Linked DNA regions of Homo sapiens: regions 1 and 3 are each linked to region 2. Evidence: promoter capture Hi-C in 16 types of primary human blood cells and fetal thymus (Javierre and others, 2016). All regions are on one chromosome and are shown on one strand. Each heading gives the region's core, a stretch centred on a gene start or on the middle of the fragment in contact. The rest is flanking DNA. Distances are from core to core; before and after follow the strand shown. Region 1 has its middle 56 kb from the start of DNAJA2-DT. Region 2 holds the start of ITFG1 (integrin alpha FG-GAP repeat containing 1). Region 3 overlaps DNAJA2 (DnaJ heat shock protein family (Hsp40) member A2).

Region 1 (3,415 bases), core at 907-3,406, 430 kb before region 2:
TGGTACGATCATAGCTCGCTGCAGCCTGGAACTCCTGGGCTCAAGGGATCCTCCCACCTCAGCCATGCCTGGCTGTTTTCAAATTTTTGTAGGGGAAGTCTTGCTATGTTGCCTGGGGTGGTCTTGAACTCCTGGTCTCAAGCGATTCTCCCAGCTCAGCCTCCTAAAGTGCTGGGACTATAGGAATGAGCTATCATGCCCAACCCAGACAGGTTTCTTAACATGGTGTAGAAGAGTTAATTCATGGAAAGTTCTACTCTTTATTCAATTGTTTTGGCATCATTTATACTGCTGATATTTTATCTGCCTTTTCCAGATTTAAAAATAAATTCTGGCCAGGCATAGTGGCTCACATCTGTAATCCCAGCACTTTGGGAGGCCAAGGCGGGTGGATTACCTGAGATCAGGAGTTCGAGACCAGCCTGGCCAACAGGGTGAAACCCCATCTCTACTAAAAATACAAAAATTACCCAGGCGTGGTGGCAGGTGCCAGTAATTCCAGCTACTTGGGAGGCTGAGGCACGAGAATCGCTTGAATCCAGGAGGCAGAGATTGCAATGAGCCGAGATCATGCCACTGCATGCCAGCCCGGGTGACAGAGTGTCACTCTGCCTAAAAAAAAAAAAAAAACCTTCAAGTCTTAAAAAAAATATCTTTTCTGGCCAACTCAGCAGGAAAGAGGCTCAACAGGAGAGCCAGCCATTTATTTTTAAATGTTTAAGTATGGCTATATAACTATATATATATTTTTATAGAGCATTTAAACATTTACTTTTGCCACTAAGTTATTGCTCCTTAAGGCTTTCTGTGAGCGATAGTTGAACACAATAGGGTTATAGTGTTTTAATAGAGAGAAATACAGTCTTTATGAAATAAGCTACTGTTTAGATAGACTCTTTGGCTTAGTAAAAGTGGTTCTTATCTAAAGCTCAGTTTCTGAATCGGGAAAGGCATTTGTTAGAAGCGTCATCTAGCACGCTTCAGTGCTGGAAACAGAAGCTGGGCAAGAACATAAAAAATCCATTTATAAACTCAATGAGTCTTCTTTTCATAAGTAGCAACTTGTCTCCTGAATTGGTTGAGACTCAGTTCTGACTGTAGACATAGTTCTGCTCTAGAAAGCTCTGACATGATTCCAGTCTATTAGTGCCTTGGAGGGCACAGAACTGTACCTTTAATGCAGCTCTTGGTCTAATCTTCCTGCCAGAAAGGAACCTGCAGAACTCCAGGAACCAAAATTGCTGCTGTAAAATTGGAGGTTGACTAGGAAAATGCCTTTTCCTATCAAGTCACGTGTGCTGGGGTAAGAAACGTATGAAATGTCTTTCTGTGCAGGGTGAGATGATAGGGGCTCAATTTCTGCCTCTAGAAGGTTATAGTGTGAGAAGCGCACAGGGCTGAAGGGGTCTGCAGTGTTCGTAGTCATGGAATAAGTGCTCTTTTAGAATAGAGAGATTTCGTCAGTAAATAAAGGACGTTATATATTGAGGTGCCAAAAGGCTTGATTTGAAATAACATCAGGCATAATTTATGAGTTAGCCACTGACTTGTTAGCCTATTGTATAAAGCCAGAGGTTAAACTGGGCCAAGGCCACAAACAGCCTCATAGGGCCATTTTGTTTGGATTTAGGGAAACAATGGCTTCCTATAAATGGTTCTTAAATGTAGCTGATCTTCAGAGTTGCCCAGGAAACTTTTAAAACACAAATTCTCAGGCCCGTTCCCAGATGTACTGAATGAGGAGTGGGAGGATGAGGTCCAGGAACCCTGAGTTTGGGATTCAGGTCACTGGATGGGACCTTGGAGAAAGAATTTAGGCCAGGCAGATCTGGTTTTCAATCTTGCCTGTGTGACCTTGAGCAACTGTCTTGACTGTTCTGAGCTTCAGAACCTTTAAGAAGAGTAACTTTGGAGTGAGTTGATGAGACAGCACATGTCAAGTGTCTCAGAGGATTGGCATCAAGGATGCTTTGCTCCAGCAAATGATGCCACTGACGCCACCGCCCTTTGGGATTTCTGTGGACATGATGCCCAAGTAAACCATAATCAGATTGCCACATAGCAGGTCAGGCCACTGGCTGAATCTCAGAGAGGAAGTGTTTGACATCCTGGTTCTTTCTGATAACCTCCAATTGAACCTAATTAAATGTGTGTCCACCCACTCAAAAGCCAACAGCAGGCCAGGCATGGTGGCTCAGGCCTGTAATCCCAGCACTTGGGGGGGCCGAGGCAGGCAGATCACTTCAGGTCAGCAGTTCAAGACCAGCCTGGCCAGCAAGGTGAAACCCTGTCTCTACTAAAAATATAAAAACTAGCTGGGTGAAGTGGTGGGCGCCTGTAATCCCAGCTACTCAGGAGGCTGAGGCAGGAGAATTGCTTGAACCCAGGAGGCAGAGGTTGCAGTAAGCCGAGATCGTGTCACTGCACTCCAGCCTGGGTGACAGAGCAAGACTTTGTCTCAAAAAAAAAAAAAAAAAAAAAAAAAAAAAGGCCAAGAGCAGGTGGATGGAACCAGTTGAGCAGCCTGGTGTAGGCCTTGGGGCTTCCAATTCACTTGAGGGACATCTCTTGCCCTGGGTCCCCTAAACATGCGATAATCATGCTTTGTGCTTGTAAGCCTCAATATCTCCAAGGCTCACTGGCTTCTCACTATAATTGGGTGAGGGGATTGCCTGTAGGCGATGTCCCCCAGACAGCTCCTGGCTGGCCTGGATCTTCTTCAGCGATCAGAAACTAAGGGAAATCAGGGGCATTTGGAGGCACAGGTTAAAATGGCTGAGCTTCCTGGATTGACAATTGTACTGGACGCTTGGAAGGAACAGCATTATTCCCTCCATAATAGCTTTTATTTATTTAGTGTTTGCTTTGTGCCAGGCATTTTTTTTTTTTTTTTTTGAGACAGTCACCTTGCTCTGTCACCTAGGCTGGAGTGCAGTGGTGCAATCTCAGCTCACTGCAACCTTCACCTCCCGGGCTCAGGTGATCCTCCCACCTCAGCCTCCTGAGTAGCTGGGACCAAGGCATGTGCCACCAGGCCCAGCTGATTTCTGTATGTTTTTGTAGAGACGGGGTTTCACTATGTGACCCAGGCTGATCTCAAACTCCTGGGCTCAAGCAATCCTCCCATCTCAGCCTCCCAAGTAGCTGGGACTACAGGCGTGTGCCACCAGGCCCAGTTAATTTTTGTATTTTTAGTAGAGATGGGGTTTCACCATGTTGGCCAGGATGGTCTCGATCTCTTGACCTCATGATCTGCCCACCTCAGCCTCCCAAAGTGCTGGGATTACAGGTGTGAGCCACAGCGCCCAGCCCCATTTTTAATTTAACTTTTTATTTATTTATTTTTAATTTTCTTTTGAGACAGAGTCTCACTCTGTCACCCAGGCTGGAGTGCAGTCGTGCTGTCTCGGCTCCC
Region 2 (3,172 bases), core at 19-2,518:
TCCAGTTTGGACACAGCAGCAACAGGTTTGGCAGTACACTGCAAAATGAGGAGTCAAAAAGATTGGGAAAATATTCAGGGTTTGTAAGAGGTTCCTGCATCCCCGCAAGGGCTCCAAGAAGTCTGGTTCAGGATCCTGTCAGGCAAGCTCTGAGTAGCTCTTCCTTCCTTCCTTCACAGCATTGATCTTTAAGCAGCACCTGCTTCTGTAGGTACTCAAGAACCCTAAGACCCCCTAATGCCCACTGTCAGCATCAAGATTTACAAAAAAGTTAGTTTAACGATTGTCAAAGCAAAGAATTTCCAAGAACAAGTTAGCAAAGAAAGTAGACATTTGGAACACTAAGGTGATGACCAAGATGAGGAAGGAGTACACGAAAGAACAGGCAGCTCAAGAGAGAAATTTCTGTAGTTTGAGACTGCTTTCCCAAGGAGGCATTGGGTTTATCAGTGGTCCCTGCAAAATGCTTGTGTGAGCTGTTTAGTGTTTAGGCCCTTGGAAGGGTACATTCGCTTCATAGAAAGTTGTGGCCTTGACAAAGAAAGGGGTGGGCGAATTAGGTAGGTGGGGAGGCAAGAAGAAGCCCCCTATGAGAAGAGATTGTCAGGTTGCACCTTTTCATGTTCATCAACGGGGAAGGAAGACTGAAGCAAAATAGAAAGGAATGAGTGGGCCTTGGGAGCGAACGTTGAGGCAAGCTACAAAGATTCCTAGGAATCAGGAAGCACTTTGGAAAACAGGTGATTCCATGGGGAGGAGGGGGTAAGGTGACTGGGTGAGGGCCGCAGACTTCTTAGGAACAAAACTGAGGTGCTGTCAGGGCTTTTGAGGGTAGGTCAAACTGTAGGGTAGCTGGGTCAGAACCTGGGGTTGGAAAGGGTGGTGCAAAAGGACAAGCTGTTAAGAATGCTAAAGGGAAGGCCACAGGGCTGGGAGAGAAGGACCAGGAAATGCAGAAGGACCGGCCATTGGGCAATGGGTTTGGGGAACACCGGGAGAGGCACACGGACAGCGAACAGAGGGAGGGCCCGGCAAGCACTGACTTTCCCGCAGCACGAAGAGATCCGTCTGCTTGTCGGAGTTGAGGTCCCCGAAAGCCGCAAGGGTGCCCCAGGCCTCGGCCCCAAAGAGCTCGGCCGTGACGTTGTGCAGCGCCCGCGCTGGGACCGGCCCGACTCCCAGTAGTGCAAGCCCTGCGAGGAGCGGCGAGAAGAGGGCCCAGGAGCTCGGGAGCCGGCCCGCCGCCGCCATGGCAGCCCCTCAGCCCCCGCCCGCCGGCCCAACGCCGCGCTTGACGACAGCCGCAAAGCACCGCGTTACCGGCCGAGAGAGTGGCGCGCAGCCCCGGGACGCGTAAGAGCCGCTGCCGGCTCCTTTTTCTCTCTCCCACTAGGGCTGCCCTTCCGACGCTAAAAAAGCAGTGGAGCTAGGGTGAAAGCCGCCCTCACGCTCACTTCCGGCAGGCGCGCCTCCCGACAGTGTCGTGCGGGGGGCGTGGCCCGGCATTGCTGACAGGCGGCCCCGGGGGCGGTGGCCAAGGCGGCGACCGGAGCGCGATGGCGGGGGCGGCGGGACTCACGGCAGAAGTGAGCTGGAAGGTCTTGGAGCGAAGAGCTCGGACCAAGCGCTCAGGTTTGGCTGGCTGGGGCGCCGCCCCCCACCCGAGTACCTTGGGTGGTGCTTCGCCTCAAGCGCCTTGGCGGGAGGCAGGTGGGGGCCCTGGGAATGAACCTGTGCCCCGAGTTCCTCCTTAGAAAGCAGGTGGCGGCCCTGGCCTTGTTTCTAATATCTTCCTCCACCTCTAAAAATTAGGTGGCAGAGCCAGCTCCACTCTGCGTGTGCCCCCGACTCTATTCCGCTTGTGAGCCCCACTCGGAAAGTAGGCAGCGGTCCGGACTTCCCTTAGAGTCTTCTAACTTAAAAATCGGGCGGCGGCACATTCCTGGGAAAGGGAATGTGTCTTCCCTGTGAATGTGTCTTTCCTGTGAATGTTCTCTGCAAAAGTCAGATAGCTTAATCAGACCAAGTCAGATGTAACTACGATCTGGCTGCAGAAAGCCGGCGTCTGGGCTCCTTGCTTTATGTCTTATATCCCTTTTACATTCCCCACAGGTTCTAAGCAGTAGACCTGTCATCTATCTAGCAGAAACTGAAGGAGACTGGGCCTCAGATATTGAAGAGTATAGTTAGGGCCCAGAAAGAAAAGGGCTTCTTAAGTGGCCCCAGGTTGTGTGGTTTCCAAACCCGAAAGCATAGAGGTCAGAAGGTGCCTTGCAGGCAGTTTTAACAGTTCCAAGTGTCCCGAACTGACTTGTTCAAATTGCAACGTCATGACTTGTGGCGTTATTAAAACTTCCTGTATTCCTGGTTGGCTGGATATAATCTTGAACAAAAGGCATGCACTTAAACAGGAAAGGTGAAAGGCGGAATGCAGGTTTTCAGCTAAGGAGCTTCCCTTTTAAAGAATTGATGAAGTGTCATTATTGGGGGTGGGTGTGAAAGGTGTTAGCTAGGAAAATTAACTTTGCACTTGCATTGATATTAAGAAATTATTTTCGGACGGGCGCGGTGGCTCACGCCTGTAATCCCAGCACTTTGGGAGGCCGAGGCGGGCGGATCACCTGAGGTCAGGAGTTCGAGACCAGCCTGGCCAACCTGGTAAAACCCCATCTCTACTAAAAATACAAAAATTACCTGGGCGTGGTGGCGGGCGCCTGTAACCCCAGCTACTCGGGAGTCTGAGGCAGAAGAATTGCTTGAACCTGGGAGGCGGAGGCTGCAGTGAGTGGAGGTCGCACCACTGCACTCCAGCGTGGGCGACAGAGTGAGACTCCGTCTCAAAAAAAAAAAAAATTATTTTCTCACCTAATATGTTCTCCTTACGTTTTGGGCTTTTCCTATTTATGAAGTTCTTAGTTGTCTGTTGTGCACACTGACTTTTTTTTTTTTTTTTTTGGAGAAAGTAAATCTAATTTCTGAAAATCTAATTTCAGAAATCATACACCGAACACTCTGTTTTTTTATACCTTACAAAAAGTTCAGCTTTATATACTTAGGGTTATAGTAAAATTACCATCTATGAAGTATGAGATAATTTTTTCAAAAAGTAGTCCTTAGTACTACTAAGAATCAATAAAGTGACTTGGAATAGTCACATGTATTTGTTTCACAC
Region 3 (3,212 bases), core at 218-2,717, 500 kb before region 2:
AACAGAAACTCTCTTCCAGTAGTTTTCTTGCCTACAGTCAAAACACCTGGGTAGAAATGAAAGACAGACTACACTGAACAACTGTTTTATAAACCTTTATTGGAAAGGCTACAAACTTTATATTGCCACCACATTTCTTATGTTTAAAGTGGTTGTGGGGAAGTAACCTTGGATACAAAACTACTATGCTGTTGAATCTTACCCAGGCTTGTTGTAAAATATTTTTTGTACAATGGAGGTAGAGTGGATAGGTCAATAATTTAAACCTCACAGGACTTGATTAGTGTCAGCACACCTTTTTTCATTCAGGTTTTCAGGTTCTAGCAGACCTAGAAATAAACTACAAATACTAGATTTAGGCTCAGGGATGGCATTTAATACATTTAAAATTTTTAGTTTTCAGTTTTCCCCATTTGTTCCTTTATAAATGTAAAATTGTGCATCTGATGTCTCTTTCCTCAAATAAGTGTGTTCTAAAAATACCTACTGAGTGAAATGGTAAAAACCAGATGATGGAAAGAGAAACACAACATCCGTTTCATCAATTTTACCTGATTTTTCTCAAACCAGCCTTTTTTTTTTGCTTATTTTTAGTTTGAAATATAAATAACTACAACAATGCATATTTCAGTTGCCTTCATTCTTAAATTCTGAATAAGCATCTTACTTTTCTATAAAACATTACAGAAACTCAAAATAATAATCAATGGCTTCTCCAATTCCAAATATTCAACTTAATGGAGACAGCATCTTTTACATTTAATGAAAACAGAGGATTTGAACACGTTCTATGCAGACATGGTTTTACTATAGATTTGCTGTTACCTTATTTTTTTAAGGGGGTGGTGGTAGGGAGATACAGAAGTCAGGCTAGCCCAGTGCTTGGGAGTTACAGCACTCAAGACACCCTGGCCTCTACAGAGCATCACTGAAGCCACTGAAGACTGTCTCTACCAGCCTTTTGTCTTCCAAGACTATAAGATGGGCATAGGCCTGAGATATAAGCTTCAGGCCAATGGGTTTTTATGGGCTGTTTAAGAACCAGTACTAAGGATACATTCTTTTATGTTTTTCCTTCTAAAAATGTGACACAAAAGAATAATTTACACCAACCGCTTTTTATTATCGAGTTTCAGAAACCTTTCACAAGATGGTAAAAAAAAAAAAAAAGAAAAAAGAAAAAAAAAACAAAACCAAAAACAAAAAAACTTTACAACCACAGCTAATGTAATTTTTTCCATTGTTCCCAGTCAGCTCCAAACCCATTGTGTGCAAAGCCCATTTTTTTCCATGCATCTAAATGATAGATACAGGCTATGAAATTCTTTATTCTATTTGTAGCAGCTTATGCAGGTGCAGCCAAACACAAAGCTTCAGGACAAATTGTACAAACTTTACAATGTGGGATTTAAATTTAAAATATGAAACATAAAAATCTACACAAAACTGATAAAAATCAAGCACAGATACCAGGATTGAAACTTATAATAATCCATGTGTGAAAGGGAGTCTTGTTTCCTTTCAAGTGCTTTATTCTGCTATGGAACAGTCAAAATGAAGATGTAAAGCTTTGTGGTTAGTTTAAATTATACACTCTGTAGATACTATACCAATTTTAAAAGTTATACATAGACCAACAGATGTCCCTCAGTTCATCTGGATTGATAAGACACTCCAGCTGGATTGCTGAGAACAAATCAGGCAAATGTGGAAAGAAAATCCACCTGTGCAATTTGTTTGCAGAGTTTACTGATGGGCACACTGCACTCCAGGTCCATGATGGCTGCTGCTTTCTTCATCAGAGCTATCATTATAGGCTTCACGCCTCTGACCACCTCCTGAGCCTCGAGTGCTATCAAATTCCTGAAGCTCTACCTCCTCTGTTTCTCCAATTATGTTAGGAACTTCCGGTCTAGATGGCAGAAGATCTTCTAGTTCCTTTATTAAAACAAACAAAAACCAGGTTGGTTGTAATATTTTCATCAACTTTCCTTTTGATACATAGAATCCAGTGTCTGTTTAAGAGTTTAAAAAGGGGCTGGGTGTGGTGGTTCATGCTTATAATCCCACCCAGCACTTTGGAAGGCTGAGGCGGGCGGATAATGAGGTCAGGAGATGAGACCAGCCTGGACAACATGGTGAAGCCTTGTCTCTACTAAAAATACAAAAAATTAGCCAGGCATGGTGGTGGGTACCTGTAATCCTAGCTAGTCAGAAGGCTGAGGCAGGAGAATCGCTTGAACCTGGGAGGTGGAAGTTGCAGTAAGCTGAGATTGTGCCACTGCACTCCAGCCTGGGTGACAGAGCAAGACTCCATCTCAAAAAAAAAAAAGTTAAAAAAAGGAATGTGGACTGGACTTTGAACTCTAAGTAAAAGATCACAAACTCATCACTCACAGGCCAAATTCTGCAGACATCTTTTGTGCAACCCATCTATTGCTTTAAGAACCAAAAAAAAGGTCATTATCTGCCAATACTTAAACATTAGAAAGTTTCTACAGGAGACACACCTTCCTGCATCCGGCATGGACACCAGCTTACGATAAAGGGGTAGTGGTCCTGCCCTCTGCAAATGAGGAACCTGTTCTCTCCAGGGAGTGCTACTCCTCATCACCACCCACACCGGGTCTACTTTACTCCTCTACAATTCCCTGCTTGGCCCCATCAACATTTACACCAGCAATACCCCATTTCCTAACAACTAGGAAAGCCTACCAATCACACAAATATACTTTAAAATTGAAAGTAACATGACTATTAAGAAACTTGAAGTCGGCTGGGTGCAGTGGCTCACGACTGCAATCCCAGAACTTCGGGAGGCAGGAGGATTGCTTGAGACCAGTCTGGACAACATAGCAACATCTCTATAAAAAGTTTTAAAAAGCATTAGCCAGGTGTGGTGGTACACACCCGTAGCAAGCCATGATCATGCCACTGCACGCCAGCCTGGGCAACAGAGCGAGACTCTCTTAAAAAGAAAGAAACTTGGCTGGGTGCAGTGGCTCACGCCTGTAATCCCAGCACTTTGGGAGGCCGAGGCAGGTGGATCATGAGGTCAGGAGATCGAGACCATCGATCTAACATGGCTAACATGGTGAAACCCTGTCTCTAACTAAAAATACAAAAACAAAATTAGCGGGGCGTGGTGGCGGGTGCCTGCAGTCCCAGCTACTTGGGAGGCTGAGGCAGGAGAATGGCATGAACCCAGGAGG

The links. The method cuts DNA at HindIII sites, captures the fragments that hold promoters and counts their contacts. A CHiCAGO score of 5 or more calls a contact.
Region 1: a fragment that was not itself captured here is called in contact with the fragment with the promoter of ITFG1 in region 2 in 1 of 17 cell types (neutrophils); the score reaches 5.3 in neutrophils.
Region 3: a fragment that was not itself captured here is called in contact with the fragment with the promoter of ITFG1 in region 2 in 1 of 17 cell types (naive CD8 T cells); the score reaches 5.0 in naive CD8 T cells.

What each region holds. Positions count from the first base shown.
Region 1 is chr16:47,028,024-47,031,438 of GRCh38, forward strand. No RefSeq gene overlaps it. Among named protein-coding and RNA genes, the nearest start is that of DNAJA2-DT, 56 kb to the left of the region's middle. The HindIII fragment of the contact is 9,259 bases long and covers 1-3,415 here.
Region 2 is chr16:47,459,795-47,462,966 of GRCh38, forward strand. ITFG1 (integrin alpha FG-GAP repeat containing 1) reads right to left here and starts at 1,269. Exons shown (of 18, transcript NM_030790.5): 1 at 1,044-1,269. The coding sequence starts at 1,251. PHKB (phosphorylase kinase regulatory subunit beta) reads left to right here and starts at 1,537. Exons shown (of 31, transcript NM_000293.3): 1 at 1,537-1,632. The coding sequence starts at 1,557. RefSeq lists a silencer at 1,178-1,647. The HindIII fragment of the contact is 8,409 bases long and covers 1-3,172 here.
Region 3 is chr16:46,955,283-46,958,494 of GRCh38, forward strand. DNAJA2 (DnaJ heat shock protein family (Hsp40) member A2) reads right to left here. Exons shown (of 9, transcript NM_005880.4): 9 at 80-1,938. The coding sequence ends at 1,747. Among named protein-coding and RNA genes, the nearest start is that of DNAJA2, 17 kb to the right of the region's middle. The HindIII fragment of the contact is 197 bases long and covers 1,370-1,566 here.